Linked DNA regions of Homo sapiens: regions 2, 3, 4, 5, 6 and 7 are each linked to region 1. Evidence: promoter capture Hi-C in human tissues and cell types (Jung and others, 2019). All regions are on one chromosome and are shown on one strand. The core of a region is centred on a gene start or on the middle of the fragment in contact, and the rest is flanking DNA. Distances in the headings are between cores, read along the strand shown.

Evidence for each region. Contacts are between HindIII fragments. The study calls those that stand out against the background at their distance.
Region 2: a fragment that was not itself captured here is called in contact with the fragment with the promoter of SHISA9 in region 1 in 2 of the 25 tissues and cell types used here (dorsolateral prefrontal cortex and hippocampus).
Region 3: a fragment that was not itself captured here is called in contact with the fragment with the promoter of SHISA9 in region 1 in 1 of the 25 tissues and cell types used here (H1 embryonic stem cells).
Region 4: a fragment that was not itself captured here is called in contact with the fragment with the promoter of SHISA9 in region 1 in 1 of the 25 tissues and cell types used here (spleen).
Region 5: a contact is called between a fragment that was not itself captured here and the fragment with the promoter of SHISA9 in region 1, in 5 of the 25 tissues and cell types used here (H1 embryonic stem cells, bladder, liver and 2 more).
Region 6: a contact is called between a fragment that was not itself captured here and the fragment with the promoter of SHISA9 in region 1, in 2 of the 25 tissues and cell types used here (mesendoderm cells and thymus).
Region 7: a contact is called between a fragment that was not itself captured here and the fragment with the promoter of SHISA9 in region 1, in 2 of the 25 tissues and cell types used here (bladder and dorsolateral prefrontal cortex).

The regions. Positions count from the first base shown.
Region 1 is chr16:12,900,244-12,902,915 of GRCh38, reverse strand. It overlaps SHISA9 (shisa family member 9), which reads right to left and starts at 1,318. Exons shown (of 5, transcript NM_001145204.3): 1 at 289-1,318. The coding sequence starts at 851. The HindIII fragment of the contact is 6,671 bases long and covers 1-2,672 here.
Region 2 is chr16:12,541,761-12,544,432 of GRCh38, reverse strand. All of the region lies in intron 20 of SNX29 (sorting nexin 29), which reads right to left. It also overlaps a transcript of SNX29-AS3 not described here. Among named protein-coding and RNA genes, the nearest start is that of SNX29-AS3, 68 kb to the left of the region's middle. The HindIII fragment of the contact is 6,327 bases long and covers 1-2,672 here.
Region 3 is chr16:13,232,566-13,235,237 of GRCh38, reverse strand. SHISA9 (shisa family member 9) reads right to left here. Exons shown (of 5, transcript NM_001145204.3): 5 at 1-208. Among named protein-coding and RNA genes, the nearest start is that of SHISA9, 330 kb to the right of the region's middle. The HindIII fragment of the contact is 4,795 bases long and covers 1-2,672 here.
Region 4 is chr16:12,561,499-12,564,170 of GRCh38, reverse strand. All of the region lies in intron 20 of SNX29 (sorting nexin 29), which reads right to left. All of the region lies in intron 2 of SNX29-AS3 (SNX29 antisense RNA 3), which reads left to right. Among named protein-coding and RNA genes, the nearest start is that of SNX29-AS3, 48 kb to the left of the region's middle. The HindIII fragment of the contact is 4,016 bases long and covers 1-2,672 here.
Region 5 is chr16:13,211,419-13,214,090 of GRCh38, reverse strand. SHISA9 (shisa family member 9) reads right to left here. Exons shown (of 5, transcript NM_001145204.3): 4 at 791-838. Among named protein-coding and RNA genes, the nearest start is that of SHISA9, 310 kb to the right of the region's middle. The HindIII fragment of the contact is 6,661 bases long and covers 1-2,672 here.
Region 6 is chr16:12,599,053-12,601,724 of GRCh38, reverse strand. All of the region lies in intron 1 of SNX29-AS3 (SNX29 antisense RNA 3), which reads left to right. Among named protein-coding and RNA genes, the nearest start is that of SNX29-AS3, 11 kb to the left of the region's middle. The HindIII fragment of the contact is 6,215 bases long and covers 1-2,672 here.
Region 7 is chr16:12,616,617-12,619,288 of GRCh38, reverse strand. No RefSeq gene overlaps it. Among named protein-coding and RNA genes, the nearest start is that of SNX29-AS3, 6.8 kb to the right of the region's middle. The HindIII fragment of the contact is 3,028 bases long and covers 1-2,672 here.

The DNA of each region.
Region 1 (2,672 bases), core at 69-2,568:
CTCAGTCACCAGCGGGAGGAGGCGGCCAGAGGGTGAGGGAGCAGAGTCACACACACACACACACACGCTCACACACACACGAACACGCTCAGACCCACACCTGTGCTGAGCCCAGCGCCCCTTCTCCGTGTTCCAAGCCGAAGTTGGCTTCCCGGTGACATCCCCCAGCGGAGAGGCTGGGATGCGGGGAGCGGGGACCGTGGGGAGCGCCATTGCCTGGGGGAAGGTGGGGAGGAGAGAGCAGGGAGAGCGAAGCCCCGAGGGGAGGGCGAAGGGGAGGCAGCCCACCTGGACATGTGCTCCCTTTGGGGCCGGTGCGCTTTCTCCAGCCCCAGCTTGGTGAAGATGCCCACGAGCACCATGACGGCCACCACCCCGCAGATGATGTAGACGATCAGGTTGGTCTTGTCCTTGGTGGGGTCGTGCAAGGGGTCGTCCTTGCGGGCGGGGGGCTTGCCGGTGTTGAGCCAGAGCGGCGTGTCGTAGTTGGTGCAGGTGCTTTGGTTCAGTCGCCGCTTCTTAAACGTGCAGCAGAACCGGAAGCCACAAGTCCCGCAGCAGAAGATGAAGTCGCCCGAGCTGCAGTTGAACGGCGGGTCCCACTGGCCCATGACATCGAAGTAGCCCCGGCAGAAGTCCGGCGTGGGCGCCCGGGTCGGGGGCGCGTCCGATGCCTCAGCGCCCTCGCTGGCCTCTCCGGAGGCGGCCCCGGAGCGGTTGCCCCCCGCCAGCAGCAACACGCCGCCCAGTTGCGCCAGCTGCCCGTGTCCCGCTCGCTCCTGCGCCCGGCACACGCGGGCGCACAGCTCGGTGAGGAAGCAACCGAGGAGCAGCCGAAGGACGCGGCGCATGGTGTCTCCCAGCCCGGGCTCGGCCGCTCGGCCGCCGCTGGAGCCTCTGCGGCCGCCTCTCGAGGCGCGGCCGAAGCTGCCGAGGCTGCTGCCGGGAGCTGCGAGCCGCCGCGGGCCGCACATGCAGGGAGCGGCGCGGGGCGCTCGGTGGTCGGCGGCCACTGCGCTCGGCTCAGCCCGCGTTCGCCTCAGCCCGCGTTCGCCTCCAGCGCGCCGCGCGCCGAGGGGCCGGCCGGGGAGGAGCGCGCCCGGCCGGGCGGGGGGAGGATGAGCGGGGTCAAGCGCGGGGTGCAGGTCCGGCCGGCCACTGGGTGAGGCGGGGGTGGAGAGCAGAGGAGAATCGGGCTGGCAGCGCCTAGCCTTGGCCGGCAGCCCCGGACTGGCCGCCCCTAGCCCTCTCGCAGTATCCCTCTCACCTCACCAGCTCGCCAAGTGCGCTGAAGAGAGCGAAGCGACACTTGTGGAATGAAGGGAGGGCAGGAGGGAAGGGGGAGGGGGAGGAGGGCGGGCAGAGGAGGCGCGGGTGGGGGGGGGCGGGCGCGAGCTCTAGAGGGGCGGGGGCGCGGGGAAGAGGTGACTAGAGCGGGAGCTAGCTGGGGGGCGTGCAGAGCTGAGCCAGGCGAGCGGACGGGGAGGAGCGAGCTCGGCAGCAGCCGAGGCTAGAGGAGCCGCTCGGATTTCCAGGCAGGTGGAAAACCGCGGCAGGACCTCCCGCGCCCTCTCTGGGTAGGAGGCGCGGCTCAGCCCTGTCCAGAGCGCAGAGGCGGCTCAGCTCGTAGCTTTTTCACCGGTGCGTGTGCAGGAGCGGCGGCCGAAATCTGTGCATCAGGGGAAGGATGACTCGGAGAGGATGGGGACAGACTAAATGGCTTTCACTCCAAGACAGACTGGGTGCAGTCTGGTCAGGATCGCCCCTCCCAGGCGTGCGGGGCCTCCTTGCCCTTCCCGGCTGCGCCCTCCAGCCCTGAGCGCAACCCGCATGGCTCAACTCTCTGGGCCCAAGCAAGGACCCAGGCGGAGCTGGGAAGGACAGGTGGCAAGCCCCTGAGCCAGGGATAAGCACCCTCCGGGGGAGAGGGGCTCGGGATGAACGAATCAAAGAAGGTCGGGGGTAAGAGGGGACAGCCGAACAAGGCCGAGGCTATGGCGTGTCCTGGAAGGTCTTTCCTTGGAAGTCCCCCAGCCTCTCGAACCTGCCGCTTTCTGTCCCTCTTCGCCCCCGCAGCGTTTTCTGCGCTCCACAGGAGGGAACACCGCGGCGCCGCCTCTGCGCTCCCGGATCTGGCGCAGCGCAAGGCCTGGGCACCCAGCCTCAGCCACCCTCCCGGACCTGGAGCCCGCGCATCGGTCTCTGGAGCTGGCTGGCCCCTGTCCCCACGGATCCCCCCGGAAATCCTCACCGGGGGCTGCAGAGCTCTGCCTTGCTTCCTCAGCTTCCAGCCTCCCGTCTCCTCTGTGTTTCCAAATCTGCCCTCTCTCTCCTAGCGAATTCCAGCTCCCCGGAGGCCCTCTCTCATTTCTCCCACCTCTTTCTCTCCTCTGCTTGAATTTGACTCCAGTAGCCCCAAAACAGGATTTGCACCAAAGCTGCTACACCAAATTTAGATCTCCCCACGCCCCGGCGTTTTGTTTTTTAATTGCATTAACTAAGTATACACTTTGCAGGCTGCTAGGCGATTTGCAAGGAGATAATGTTTCCACAACCCTCCTCTCCACTTGGCTGCAGTCAAGGGCTTCTCAGGGCATCTTCAGAGAACGAAAAGTTGGGCGACATGTAAAATGGTTTACTAGGGTCCCCTGAATTGAGAAAGGGTGGGAGGA
Region 2 (2,672 bases), core at 77-2,576, 360 kb after region 1:
GTCCAAATCCCACCAGCTGACATAATGTTTTAGCAGAACCACCTCACAACGCCTTCCACTCCCCAGCATCACTTCTCCTTTCCAACAGTACTGACTTTTCCTGCCTCATGACTTTGGGGTCCACCTTCCCCTGTGGCCTGGATGCCGTACTGAGAGTGTAAAGTCCTGAGTTGCAATCTGGGTAAGTTAGTTTCAATCTTGGTGTGGTGAGGAACCGGCTGTCACGGTTCTGAAGCCTTGGCTGATGTGCACACCACCGATTCCCATCCCGTGTTCTTAGGAATGATGCCGGTGAATATAGGGTTATGGACTTGTTTTCCTTAACAGCCTTCCACAACCAAGTCTGCAGAAAGACCTCTACCCCTACCAATGTGATTCCTGTGGCTTTGCAATGTGATGAGTCAACGGGGTCTAGAGTCCAGGGCTTTTGCATTTAACCCATGGTGTGACCTTGGCTGAGACCATTTCTCCCAGCAGATAGGCTCCTCGCTTAGAACGAGAGGGTGCCGGATTCCACCTTCGGCAATCCAGGATGAAGGAATACGCAAGCTCTTGTAGTGTGGTAAGAGGATGTTCCACCACTGGCTTCTCTCTTCCAAATACGAAGGTGTCCCTGTCTCATGGGCTGGGAGAAATCTCTAGAGCACCAGATACATCTTGGAAAATAAACTTGGAAAATCTCCCCCAGTCAACTCCACTGCAATGCCAAAATTCATTAATTCCCGTGGTTAATATTTTCTGATACGACTGGCTTGTTGAATGCAGGCTGGAAGAGCGTCTGGAGACAGACGGCACCAGCTGCGGAGCACTGGGGCACTGCCCACTCCATCGGGGAGGATGAACTGGGACGCACCACGGAAGCGTGATCTCGTGGCTCAGTGGGCGTGGAAGTCTGGGCCAAAGGTGTCACAAGCTTCTTACACAATGACTCGCCAGCACAGGTGGCTGTGGCTTTACTGACAGCTGTTCACCAGACCCCGCAGCATGAACATATGTTTGCCCACCCACTTTCTCTCCTTTCAGTGAATCGGGCCCCCTCCTTCTGGATAATCATGTTCAGTCCATGAGCTTAGGTGGGCTGAACACCCTGCTCCTCTGCCCCAGATTTGGCTAATCAAGGTGCTCCATTCCCCGGGCCACAGGCACGGACCCAGATGCATGCGCTGATGACCCAGAGCTGCATCATTCAGAATCTCTAGAATTTCCGCTACAGCTATCAGGAGCAACGTGATGAATATGATTTTTCCTAGGACTTCTACAGGAGCTGATGAGAACACTTATGCTTCAGGGCCTGGATCTAAACCATCTATAAGATACGCAGCTGCCAGGATCCATCTTTCCACCAGACAGAACATGCTTGAGGGTGAAACCAACAGGGTCCTGGTGACACTTTTTGAGCCTCTGGATCCAGCCATTCCTGAAGCTAGCCAAGTCCCTGGACTTCATAGTTACAGGAGTAGTAAGTACTTCTTTTCTGCTTCAAGCTAATTTGAAGTAGGGCTCTATAGTTTTGCTAAGCAAAGATTCCCTACTCAAATCATGTTTCTGGGACCTCTAGAGACTCAGACATTTAGCATTTCTGAGTACTGCTCATGGGTCCACACACCTTACAGGATGCTTTAACTTCACTTACTTGCTGATTTAACTAATACTTTGTTTAAAAAAAAAAAAAAGGCAGTGATAGTCTAGTGCTTATATGCACAAGATTTAAGAGTAAAAGACTGGGACCAACACCAGCCTGGCCCCAAAGTCCATGTTCCCAACACGCTGCCTTCAAACACAAGTTTAAGTGTTAGACCCACACTGGGTGCCGTGGCTCACGCCTGTAATCCCAGCACTTTGGGAGGCTGAGGCGGGTGGATCACTTGAGGTCAGGAGTTCAAGATCAGCCTGGCCAACGTGGTGAAACCCTGCCTCTCCTAAAAATACAAAAATGAGCCAGGTGTGGTAGTGGGTCCCTGTAATCCCAGCTACTTGGGAAGCTGAGGAAACAAAATTGAACTTGGGAGGCGAAGGCTGTAGTGAGGGGAGACTGTGCCACTGTACTCCACCCTGGGTGATAGAACTTGGGTCTAACTTTTTCTTTTGAGACAATCTCTTGCTCTAACAGCAGCTCTAAAACTTACTAGCTGTGATCTTGGGCAAGTTCCTCCATTTCTCCATGCCTCAATTTCCTCATCTATAAAGGGAATAACACTAGGTCCTATCCCTCTGAGTTGCAGATTCCTTGACACCCTGTGTGGAAAAGGCTTAGCACAGGGCCTGACACCCAGCAGGAGCCCAGGTAGCGTGGGCTGAATTGGAAATGCTGGCTCAATTTAGGGATCCGTTGGGAAGAGACAATATTGCAGGATTTGGACTAACTGGTGACTAGGAATATCTTTGCCAAACTAATTAAAAAAAGAAAAAACAGAGCGGTGCTGCAAACGTGAGCCCTTCTGGACTCATAAGACAAGCCAAGTCTCTGAAGTGGATCCAGCGTCCTCTTGTGTGGGCCCAGGATGTACCGTGGGCAATCAGTGGAAAACATCTGTTGCATCATCATAAACATTCATCAAGCATTGACTGGTTTCCAGGCATGTGCTACAAAGCTGGGAGAAGAGGGGAAGAGGCGAGCTTGGTTCCTGCCCTCTGAACCTTTCCATTCCAGGGGGTTGGAAACGCAGGTCAGT
Region 3 (2,672 bases), core at 72-2,571, 330 kb before region 1:
AAGTTGGTGGTAGAGGTGTAGGCCAGGGGATGTGGGGGCATCTTGTTGGTGCGGGACTTCTGTCCATTCTGCTTGGCAGGACCGTGCTCAGGGCTGAAGGCCCGGGGCTCGTCCTCCACTCTTACGGGGTGCAGAGGTAAGTTCCCCTTGGCAGCCAGCTCAGCCAGGTGCCGTCGCTTGGTGTAGAAGTCGTCATTGACCTTGTCAGCTACACATCGGAACGGGTGGATGAAGAAGGGGAAGAAAGAGAAGAGAGAGAGAGAGAGAGAGAGAGAGAGAGTTAGAGACTGGCATGTCAACCCAAGAACAGCATAAAAATGGGCCAACAGTCCAAACAAGACACACTAGAAACTCCACCTAGAACAAGACAGAGGGAAGGGCAGCACCATGCCCTTTTCACAAACAAAGAGCAGGACCAAGAGGATTAAAGGCATCCCCAAGGGAACCTCTAGACCTCCGAAATAAACACTTCTCCCCCCACAGTCCCACCTACCATTCTGCCATCGTTGGTTTGCCTATGAAATTCGCGTGTTGTTTCTTTTTTATTAAAATGATACATTTTCATTAGAGAAAAGAGTGAACATGTTAAGTGATCTTCCTATCTATGACCTACCAATCAAGACAGCCGATAACAACTTTTGGGTGTATTTTCTTCTGGTATTTTTAATAAACAGAGTTTAATTTGGGATTTTTCTCCGCTGGTTTGTTTGCTTTTGTTTTTGCTTTTAGCAGTTAAACCAGACCTGTATTCACATTTCAACTGTGACACCTGCCAGCAGCTTAACCTTGACTAAATTACTTAACATTTGTCAGCATCAGCTTCTCCATAAGGAAAGCCATTACAATAAAAAAGTATACTTCATAGGTCTGTTTGGAGAGTTAAATGATATGATCTGTGTAAAGTGCTTAGATATTATCTACCACCATTATCATCGTCATTATAAATAAGTTTGTTTCTATTTCTCAAGTAATGTTCTATCAAGCATTTCTTCATGTTGTTATAAATTATTAATAAACAGGATTTTCATGTGTACCTAGTATTTCATTGAGTGGAACTATCAAAATTAATTAATTCCCCTATTAATGAGTGTTCTAATTGTGCCAATATTTTGCTATTACAAATACAGTTGTATGTAATAGCAACTTTTCACTTAAACCTCTCTTTATATTTAGAATTTTGAATTTAGCATAATTCTAAAAATGTTTTCTTATTTATTTATTTATTATTATTTTTTCAGACAGGATCTTACTCTGCTGCCCAGGCTGGAGTGCAGTGGCACAATCATAGCTCACTGCAGCCTCTACCTCCTAGGTTCAGATGATTCTCCTGAGTAGCTGGGACCACAGGCAAGCATCACCACACTAGGCTAATTTTTGTATTTTTTTGTTTGTAGAAATGAGGTTTCACCATGTTGCCCAGGCTGGTCTTGAACTCCGGGGCTCAAGCAATCCTCCCACCTTGGCCTCCCAAAGTGCTTGGGATTACAGGTGTGAGCTACCGCACCAGGCCTGTTTTCTTAATTTACATCAGGGATTGGCAAACTATAGCCCACGGGGCCAAATCTGGCCACATCCTGATTTTGTAAACAAGGTTTTATTGGACACAAAACCATGCCCATTCATTTATATATTATCCATAGCTGCTTTTGTTCTGCTGTGGTAGAATTGAGTGCTGGTTGAAACTCAGCTGACAGAAACCGTGAGACCTGAAGAGCCTGAGATATTTACTACCCAGTCCTTCTTTAAAAAGTTTGCTGACCTTTGATTTGGATTATAAAAAGTAGAATTATTTGGCCAAAGAGTATAAACATTGTTAAGGCTCTTGATACATATTGCCAACTATTCTACAAAAGAGTTTTACCAATTTCCACTCAATTTAACTACACTCTCTCCAGCATTGAAGGATTCCTTCCTTCCTTCCTTCCTTCTTCCTCTCTCTCTTCCTCCCTCCCTCTCTTCCTTCATTTTTACTTCTCTTTCTCGTTCTTTCTTTTGAGGACTAAGCTCTGATTTTTTCTTATCTTGCCCAGATTTCTATCTAAGGGGTCTGGGAGTCATATCCTACAAACCATAAATTCTCATCAGATGGGTTTTATTTAACGCTATATATCGTGACTTACTTTCCTATCTGACTCTGACACAACATTACATGACAAAGAAGAAAGTCAAAATATTTTACCCCAAAACATGTTTTTTTGTCGTTCTTTGAAATGGCCCTGCAAAAAAAAAGTTTTTTTGTGGGGTAAAACCTACATGTGTAAATAAGCTCTATTAACATAGCTAGATTTTTTCTTCCAGGCCCTCCCAATCGTAAAGAGATTAACTGAGAGTCTAGCACCTTTTAAAAGTCTAAATAGGAAACATTTGTCTTCTATTGTCTCTAAGGGCTGCCACTATAAGACTTCAAAAGAACCTTGGTCTCCACAATCTTTTATCTTCACCTGAACATTCCCTTTCTATTGATCCCAGGTCTTTAGACTCAACCAATTGTCAACCAGGAAATGTTTACATTTACCTATAGCCTTGAAGCTCCCCACTCACCATCCCCTTCGAATTGTCCCATTTTTCTGGACCAAACTTATGTATTTCTCAAATGTATTTGATTGATGTCTCATACCTCCCTAAAATGTATAAAACCAAGCTGCAGACCAGCCACCCTGGGCACATGTTCT
Region 4 (2,672 bases), core at 67-2,566, 340 kb after region 1:
AGCAATCCTCTACCTCAGGCCTCCCAAGTGCTGGGATTATAGGCACGATCCACCACACCCAATCAAGGAGGATTTTACAAAGATATTACAAACTCCCAAAATACAGCATCGTTGCCAAACCACAACCTTTTACCGGTGCAACTCCTCAACTCCCTACCCTGGGGGAAGAGGGTGCTGCAGGGGCAGAGGGAACCTTATCTGAAAAGCCCTTCCTCGTCTTTCTTGAACAAGATCAGCGTCTAGGTATTGTAGGTCTTCGGCTGCCTGCTCCAGAGACGGCAGAGGCCCAAGGGGCTAGAGATGGGGAGAGATGGCTATTCAGCAGGGATATTTACAGGCAGCCTGAATAAATAAAAAGCAGCAAATGGGTGGGTGTTGCAGTCTTCAGACAGGTCGGCAGACAAGGGTGGAGAAGTTGTGGCTGTTGGGTAAAGAATGACAGTGCCATCTCTGGCTTTCCTCATGTTCCTCTTACATGAGGCCAGACCCCATCATGGGCTCTCGGGGAATTGAAAAGACTCAGTTCCTACCTTCTGGGGCCAGGACAGTCTCGTCTGTGAGATGTGGTGATACAGACATGGAGGCCTAAGCCACCACCCAAAGGGGTGGGGTAGACCCCTCAGGTAGTGGTGGGAGACAACTCAATTTTTCACATGCGGGGAGGAGTCTCCCCGTTTTAATAGCCCTATTCCTTGAGCCTTTTACCCTATTAGGTTTCCTAAATTTACCTGCAAAGGACATACCGCAAGGAACAAAATCCAGTCGCCATCTATTTTCATGGTTACGGGTAAAATATCAACGTGGCGATAAAAGACAGGCTCAGGATAATGGCCACTCCTCGACGGTGACTCTCTCCAGTCACAAAGCAGACTTTCCGAGCTGTGGATCCAGAACCCGACGTTCCTCTGCTACCTGGGCGGGGTCAGTGATGATGGGGAGGCCACTTTCAGGGTATGAGCCTCAATCCCAGCATGTTGACTGTGGGAAGTGACATCCCTGAGCCCAGAGTTGCCCCCCCTGGAGCTGGGATGAGGACGTGTGGCGACCTTTCCTAGGCTCTGTTGTTAGCGTGCGTCTTCTATGTAACATTCTGGATTTCTCTTCCAGTACCTACATTTCGAGGTGACCTTGGCCCTTGCAATGATGTAAACACGGTTTGAAAGGCGCATTGAAGCAGTTTTTCTTACGCATCAGCCCTCACCCCTTGTGTTGGGTGAATGTTTGCTTCTTACTATGCAGGTTTTTGGCAACATGGACGAATCTCAAGCACATCGTCAAATTCCCAAAACTAGAAATGACAAAGCACAGACCGGGAGCTGTCGGGTTGCCTATAGGGGAATGCTAGGAAATTTGGGGGGAAAGGAGTTGTTCCACATCTTGATGGTGATGGCTAAAGGACTCCAAGCCTTTGTGAAAACTCAAGGAACTATGCCATAAAAGCGAGAAACAGTACCACGGTAGGCTTCAATCTCGACTCCAAAGAAGGCAGTGCCTGTAAATCTAGACTTTCCCGACATAAAACAGCCCCTCAGGGAAGACCCTGATAGCCTGTAGCTCTCAAGAGCCAGCGACCTTTGTCCCCGTCTCTGGGTAAAAACTAGGGACCACGGGGACAGTGTCTTAGATGACTCCTGGCTGTGTCATTCACCAGCAGGTGTACTTGGGCTGCTCACGATGCTCCTTTCTAGGACTCGAGTTCCTAGCCTATGAAGGGGGATCAAAGTCAAACTAGCAAGCTGTGTGCACTTTAAGTGGGTAAATTGTATGGTATGTGATCTGTCTCTTGAGCTGTTTTAAAAAATGGTGCAAGCAAAAATAAAGGGGGAAATCACAGAATCTGCCCTGCAGGTTCTTGGGACAAAGCCAACGATAACGTTTGATGCTGGGATAGAGCGTGGCCCATGGGGATGCTGCTTAGTGAATGCCCTCGCCCTTCACTTCTGAACTTGGCCACCTCCAGCAGGGTTCACTCCTCTGTGAACCCTATGCTCAGGTCAGACCTCAATCTTACTCCACAGACCTGGTATTGCCAGAGCCATTTTGGGGTCACACAGGAGAGTGAACGGCCTTAGAAATGCGGTTCAAACTACTGGGCAGAAAACACGGGAAGGAAAACGGCACAGATGATTCCATCCCTAAATCCATGAGGGGCCAGGCCTCCTGGGTTGCAGGGTCCATTGTCACCAAGCTGGTAGACACTCTGGGGACATCATGCCCCCAGGGATGCACCTGGCTCTAAGCTCACCTGGAAGGCAACTGGAGAAGGAACTCCTGGGATGCCACGGTCACCTAGGAGACAGCCCATAAGTCCCCAGGGCACTGCCTCCCCTCCCCTGCAGGGAGAAGGATGTAAGCTGCGGTAATGAGCCCCCTGCCAGGCCACGCGTGGTCCTGACATGTGCTTTGGTGTTCATTTCAGAAACTCCATCTCCATCCTCCCTGCTGCTAGCAACTTAACACAGCACTGGGGAGTTGGGGAAAAGGGGGTCTGTGTGTGAGGGCACCCTCAGAGGGCCCCAGGAGTGGCTGTTCTTTTTAATAAGCCTCTTGGGGTACACTGCGTTGTGTCCTGTCACCAGCATGCGGCTGACATTAATCGGACAGCCTCAACTGCTCATCAGTGAAAATGGCTGCGAGGAGAGACTAACTTTTCACTTTGTTTCACCTGTGAT
Region 5 (2,672 bases), core at 120-2,619, 310 kb before region 1:
CACCCTAGTGGAAAATAGCTTAGAATAAGGGTCAGACTGATAGAGGTTCAAACTGCAGATCTACCACTGAATAGTCACATGACTCTAGACCAGCAAGACTTATCCATACTTAGACATCATGTCCTCATTTCTAAATGCAGATGACAATGCCTACACAGCCTGATCATCATAGAATTAAATGATAAAATGATGTAAAGGGCCAGTCCTCTGGCACATAGTAGGGCGCTAATTAATGATAGCTGCCACCTGGTCTGGTCACCCAGCTGGGTTAACTCACAGACTCAAGTCGACCAACTTCCTAACCCTCTCTGCTCACCACGCTGTCCCAGGAAAGTTGAAAATAGCATTCTGTTCTCTAAAAGGCTAGTCATTCCCAAGACCCTTGGCCAATAACTTGATTATGTTTTTCTCTCCCTCAGAAGCTGTGTTCTTCCCCCGCCCCGCCCCCATTAATTAACCTTGTGTTTTGCCATTTGCCATTGCAGCTTTCTGAGAAAAATCAACATATTTCACCTTACCTGGCATGATTTCTCATAGTGATATTTTCCATCAGGCAGCAAATATTGGGAAGTGAGGGCTACCACGTTGTCCAACAATTGCTAGATGCACACACACACACACAAACACACAAACACCTACACACTGGAACTTAGACGGACTTGCAGATGCCACCCTATGCAGACACACATGTGCACAGGTCACACAGACACCAGGACTCTCTATCCCTTCATTATTTAATGCTAACTTTGACAACACCTGGACAAAAGAGCTAGAAAAAGCTGTACAGTACCTTTTGGTGACTTAAGTGTCGATACTGCCCAGTCACCATCAGAACTTCCTAAAAAAATAACAATCAAGAAATGCTGATGATCTGTTTGCAGGGCACCCATGTTCACTATGCCCTCACACCCAGGTGCTGTTGGCTGCCCCTGCTGCAGCCTCCAAGCAGGGACAGGCCTCAGGGGACCCAGGGAACAGGGAAGGGAGCCACGTGTGAAAATGCAGCTATGTGTGTACCTCTTTCTGCAAGGCCTTGAAGCAGCCTCACGTTAACACCCAACAGAAGATCAAAAGAAGCCTCCTGAAAAAGGCCGAGATATTTTCAGTTACGTAAGGCAGAAAGATAATTCTTAGGTAGAAAATCTGGCTGTAAATTTCAACCTGCTTAGAAAGAAAGGAAAGTTTGAGTTATATGAGCTCACCTTGGCTCAAGACTACACTCTGATGACAAGAGATAGACTTTGATCGTGTTCCACTGCAATCCCCCTCCTGAAAAGGGGCACATTATTAGCCCCAGATTCAAGGTTGGGACAGGCTCTACTGACTGCGACTTTAAATGCTGGGTGACAGGCCCCATGGGGTGGGGGCTACCTTACCACAGTACCTAACACACATTCTGTGTTTGGAAAATATGACTGAATGAAGGAATGCATTCAATTTTATCCACAGAGTCACCCTTTCTAAGGTAGGGAAATTCTAAACGGTAACGAGATCAAGCTTGTTATCTGAGAATCCCATAATGAGTAATACATTGCTTTACAGAACAGGTGTGTGCCTGGAGTTTTCATTATAAATCAGTTTATCCGAATTGAATTCCCTTTCAGATGTCCCGAATGAGCCCTGGGAGATCTAACATTATTAACAGAATTCCATAATGACTCCTTTCATAAAATGAAGGATACTGAGAATTGGCCAAGGCTATACCCAACCCAACCCCCACCAACCTCGCATTTTCTTTGATAGTTCTCTGTAAGATTGGGTTTTGCTTAAAGTGGGGCAACCCTACCCACGAGACCTCTCCTCATTGGCTGGAGACCTGGCCAATCAGCGTGTGGTCCTAGCTCTTTCCTTTCTTAGGCATCTACCTAGAAAGACCAAGTCCTCAACAGTTTGGCACTATTTCCAGAGATATATCAGGCTGAGTGAAGGCGCAGGGAACAGTCTGTCATCTGAATGATTACAGAGCACAGATCCGGCCCCATTTAAACATTTCTGGCTGGCCTCCCCAGGCGTGCCAAAGGATGCTCAAATCGCCACATCCCCCCCGTGGATCTGAACTGTACACCCCTCATCACTCACAAGAGGGACAATTGGAGCAACAGAAGAGAGAAGAGTGAGGAAGTTAAAACTGAGTCGGGCCCACCCAGGATGACTCGGTTCTCTTCTCCCCCATAGCCAGGGTCATCTGGAAATAGTGGTGCGACCCCCATTCTTCCTGTGTGGATGGCCACACGCTGACCAAGCCAACAAGTCGCTGACTCCAGGGAAGCCATCTGAACCCCAAATTAAATCCATTGCTGTTTGCCTTGAAGGCAGGAACCATTATTTTGTCACCTCTGTTCCCATTAGCTCAGATAGGGCTTAGCTATTACAATAATGAATTTTCATTTATAAGTTCATTGACAATAGGGCATTTAATAAGATGATGTATAGGCTACGGAACATTTAGTTAAGGCTCCACTGTGTACTTGGTCACACTCATGGACATTAGAAAAATACTTTGAGGGTGAAAAATGCTCATGAAGAGGAAGTAGACCTAAGGTATTAAAAGGAAGGAGATATGAGGGAACTTTCAGTGTGACGAAAATATTTCTCATTTTTATTGGGATGTGGATAACCAAGTGTATGCTTTTTTTTTAAACAATCACACTATTGTAAAATTATGAACTGTG
Region 6 (2,672 bases), core at 94-2,593, 300 kb after region 1:
AAGATCCTTAGGGTGTTGCTTTGCAACTGGAAACCCCTGTGGTCAGTGGGACCTTCTGCCTGAGCATTGCTCACACCTGCTGGGCTCATTGTGCTCACCTGGCTAAGCAGGCTGCACTTGGCTCATGCCACTGGCCCAGAACCCCATACCTTCCAAGGGTGAGCCAGGCACGAAGTGACGACGGGTGTGTGGGTGACAAGCGTGGGGCCTGGCTGCTGTGTATGGCCAGGTGTGCTGGGTGCTACAACAGGGCAGGCAGCTCTGGGTACTGGCACAGGTGCTGACTCTGCAAGGCTGACTGGACCAGACGTACCACATGTGGCTGTTTCTGTGGGTACCCTTGTCTGAACAAGGGGTATGTGCTGGCAGCTGGAAGCTTGGAGATGCCAGGAACTCCTGATCCCCAAAGAGGGTGTTACAGTCCTGGCTTGGGGAGCCCCCTAGATCTGGGTTCCCTGGAGGACTGCAACTCTTTCCTTCTCAATACATGCAATGTGGCAAGTTAGTGTGTGTGGGTGTGTTTCAGCCCTGTTTGTTACAGCTCTTTCAGTCCCACCATTTGGCGGGTCCCAAGTACTTGTCCTCCTTCCTAGAAGAATGAGGTACACGGACAACTGGAGGGTGAGCAAGGTAGAGAAGAGCTTCACTGAGTGACGGAACAGCTCTCAGGAGGCTTGCGGAGGGTAGCTTCTTCCCAAAGGCAGGTTGTCCTGATGACTGTCCAGCTTTCACCAGAGAGGAGACCCGAAGTGGGTAACTCCTTCCTGTAGCTGGTAGTCCCGACTTGTGTTAGTCTGGCTGAGTCTGGGGTTGTTAGAGGCTCAGAAGAAAGGAAGTACATGCTGATTGGTCCATGAGTGGGCCCAGTGAAAGCAGTATAAGTTCTCACTCCACCTGGAACAGACAGCCCGGGCTTCAGGCCATCCCTGGCTTTGAAGGTGAGGTTTCACCAGGGACCTACCCCTTTCTGTCCAGAAACGTGTCTGCCTCCCGCCATCAACATGCTGTCCACAGCACCCAGGCTGTTTGGGCCTAGGGATTCTTGCAGGCCCATGCTGAGCTGCCCTCAGCCACCCCGACCTCCCTCCCACACTTAGTGCCACCCAAAGTCCAGAGGGGGCCAAGGTAGTGGTTGGGGGTGGTGGTGTATATGCTGGTGTTTGAATCCTGCCCGAAGCACATGTACCCCCCAGGTGGGTTACTAAAGTGTCTAGGCTTGGCCACAACTTTGCTTTGAAATTGAAGTGGGCACCGGATCCAGGGACAGGCCAGGGAAGTGGGAACAGGCACTTCGGAGCCTGCGGTAGGAGGGGAGGCTTCCCAGCCCCCTGAGAGCACAGGGATGCCCGGGTCCAGAACCACAGCCGGGTGGCTGCAGTTGTGCCCAGGAGGGTGGGGCTCATGCATGTTCCCAGGTCTTGCTGGCTCTGAATTGCGCAGCCCTGGCCATGCTGCCGCCTCTGCAACTGGCATCCTGCAGTAGCTGCTCCACATGGGCTGCCCTTGCCATTGCCATGACCCACGATGTGTCCCATGACAGGAGGAGATGGATGCTTGCACGGGGCCATTTCTCTGCCTACTATAACGTATTAGGTTTTGACATTTTTGCCAGCCTGGTATTTCTAAAATGACAAATCACTGTGGTCTTAATTTGCATTCATTGGAGGCATGTTTTTTGTATAAGGAACAGTAGTGACTTTGGGGCTTAGAAACTGATAAGCATTAACACGCTCTTAAGTGTTATTGATGTTGGTATTTGGACTTTCACCAAGGATCGCTAGCTTTGGGAGTTGGCTACCCTGAGTGTGAGTGTGGCTCACTCTAGTTGTGTGGCCTTGCTCTGGGTGTCAATTCCCACCTAACATGGTAGCTCTAAAATGTGTTAGCCACCTGTCCTTGTGAGTAACAGATGCTCAAAAAAATGACTTCTACTGAAACCAGGGAAGATGAGCAGGATCAAGGTGGTATCTGCTATGTGAGGAGGAGGACAGAGGCTTCCTGAACTGTGAAGGTACTGAGTCTGAGAACCCCAGAAAACAAAGGCCAACCTGCATCTCCAGGCCTTCCCTTACCTTGACTATTTCCATTGCAATGGGATGAAGTTCCCCAATTTTCAGAGCCTGACTGTTTAGGCAATATGCACATTATCTACACAGCAGCCAACACTTAGCCAAAGGCAGATTCTTCATTGTCCAAACAGGATTCTTATTTGAGGTATAAGAAGTTTGCTCACTAAAGCTGAGCTCTGTGGGTAAGACCTTGTGATGCTTTCGGGGAGTGGAAGGAAGAGTTATGATTGCTTTTCTTAATACCTCAGATGGAAATCCTGGACCTCTTTAAGGCTGCCATGTGCAGTTGAACAGGTTGCACACAATTCCAGGATGTCCTCTGATGGAGCCTGTAGGAGTTGAAGCCTGACCGGTGCCCCACTCGCCAAGCCTGTGAAGCTAAGTGTAGGACTGCATCTGTCTAGGAGAATAAATACTTTGGTGATTTGTGCAGAGGCAACTTAAGAATTAACAGCAACTTTGTTCCTGGTGATATTCAACTGAAGGACTCTTTATGGATTGGGGACAGTGAGAGGTGGATTGTTCCGGATTGCCACCAGAAACCTAGAAATCAAGCTTGGGTCATGTCTACACAACAGCTTGTAACGCACCGTGGGTCTTACT
Region 7 (2,672 bases), core at 89-2,588, 280 kb after region 1:
GTGCACAAGCCCACTTGAGGTGTTCTTCTCTTACCAGTCGAGTGTTTAAAACTCTGCTATTTTGCCTCTCTGCATGTTTGAGCCCACTTGCCCAGCTCCTGAGATCTTACTGGTAAGCTGTTGATGACCAGTTTAGGGTGTCTTTTTTTTTTTTTTTTTTTTTTTTTTTTTTTTTTTCTTGAGACGAATTCTTGCTCTGTTTCCCAGGCTGGAGTGCAGTGGCACAATCTCAGCTCACCTCAACCTCTGCCTCCTGGGTTCAAGCGAGTCTCCTGCCTCAGCTTCCCGAGTAGTTGGGACTACAGGAGTTCATCACCATGCCTGGCTAATTTTTGTATTTATAGCAGAGACGGGGTTTCACTATGTTGGCCAAGCTGGTCTCAAACCCTTGATCTCATGATCCACCCACCTCGGCCTCCCAAACTGGGATTACAGGCATGAGCAACTGTGCTCGCCCTCAGGTGTGTCTATCTGTTGTAAGCCTGCCTTTCCCTGGCACTGGCTGAGACCAATTATTTCAGACCATTAACAACTGCCAGAACATGACCTGGTAGTGCCCTGGCATTCCTGGTGGTGGTGGGGGGATGGGGGCTGCTGCTTCCCTGCTCATGTCTGACTAGCTACCCACTGTACCATGACCACCTACCATGATTCTAGGACTCAGTCTCCTTCCCCCTTCCCTGGGGCAGATCTTGTTCAGTTTCATGTGCACTTTCCCAGGCCTTTCCTATGCGTTAACATCTATGCTTTCAGCAACTGTTAGGTATAAACTGTATCATGTACATATCATTCAGCAACTTGGTTTTTTCGCTGCTTGCAGCTCAGCTGTATCAGTATACTCGGAGAAATTTTCTAACTGCTTGGTTTATTATGGTCCAAATATATAAAAGTTTACACAACCATCCTATCAATTGGACGCGATCTGGGTGGTTTCCTGTTGTTTTTCTTTACTACACACAGCTCAGGCCCCTGGCCAGGCCATCTTGATGTTTGGGTAAATGCTTTTCAAGCGGAGATACTGATGGTGGCTCCATCTTGGGGCATGCACATATTTCTTTGTCAAAATTTTCTCCAAAACGGTTATAGGAATTGGACCACAAGTGAGGTGTGAGAACACCTGATCATATTTAAGCTTTTGGTGATTTAATAGCTAGAAATACTTCATTAACCTATAGCCCCCTGATTGCTGATGAGGTGAACATCTTTTCATATGGTCAGTGAGTGCATTTTCTGTGAATTGCTTATTTATATCCACTTTTTGATTAGTATCTCATTTTCTTGGGAAATGGGGAGGCCTTGGGGAGAGAAGCCTATTTTCTTGACCAGTTTCAGCCAATGTAAAAAACAAAAGGGGTGTTCTCTAAAGCACATACATTGTAGATTGGCAGTCAGCAAACTCTGGCAACAGGAAACCGGTTGTGTGGAGGACAGTTTTTCCACAGATGGGGTTGGTGGGAGGGGAGGACAGTTTGGGAGATGGTTCAGGCACCTTACATTTCTCGTGTACTTTAAAATTATGACATAATAATGAAACTACACAACTCACCATAATGTAGAATCAGTGGGAGCCCTGACCTTGTTTTCCTGAAACTAGACGGCCCCATCTGGAGGTGGGAGGTGGGAGACAGTGACAGATCATTTGGCATTAGTTACCTTGTCAGAAGGAGCACGCAATCTAGATCCCTCACACGCGCAGTTCACAATAGGGGTTCATTCTCCTGTGAGAATCTAATGCTGCCACTGATGGACAGGCAGAGCTCAGGTGGTGATGTGACCAATGGGAAGAAGCTGTAAATACAGACGCTTTGTTCGCCAGCTGCTTACCTTCTGCTGTGTCACCTGCTCCTAATGGGCCACGAACGTTTCTTGGTCTGTGGCCTGGGGTTTGGGGACCCTTGTCATTAACAATTTGCTGTAAGTTACAAATACCTTCTGGAATGTTGGTGTTACTTTGTTCATATTTTTGTCATGCAGAACCTCAACACTTCACTGTGGTCATCAGTCATTTCTTCTATAGTTTTTGAAAAACTTATTTGTAAGTCTAATAGTGCAAGGTCTATAAATTGTATTTCATTATTCAAATAGTTCGAGGATTTGCTAAAGTTCACTTTTGTGTGTGACAAGTGTTCCAATGTACTGTTTTTCTGGATGCACAGGCAGTTGTTTTAAGACTGAGTCTTGCTCTGCTCATGTGAAAATACCCGCTTTAACCTCTGTCAAACCTTTGTCTCTACTTGGGTGTTGATTCTTTGGTTTATGTATTCCTGCCCTGGTTTCATAGAGCTTTGTAATATGATTCTTGTTTGTAGTGGTCAAAGTTTCCCTTTATTTTTCCCTTCCCAAAACTGCCCTAGCTCTTCTGCGTTTCAGAATAAGTTGGTCAAATTCTACAAAGAATTGACATACGGAACAAGGGTTGTGATGCATTACGTTCATAAAATTTGGGAAGAATTGACTGACAGTCTTTGAGGGTGATACAAGTCTGTCATTTAGTGAAAATTTAGTTTTATATAGATCGTTTAAAATAAGATTTAGCTTTGCGGCTATTGTTTCTAAAAAGCTTTGTGTTGTATATTTGACTTGTTCGTTTTTACGTTGATACAGTATGGGACTACCCTGCTCAAAGTAAATGTCAGTTTCCTGACCATTTTCTAGCTTGGAGAATAATGTGT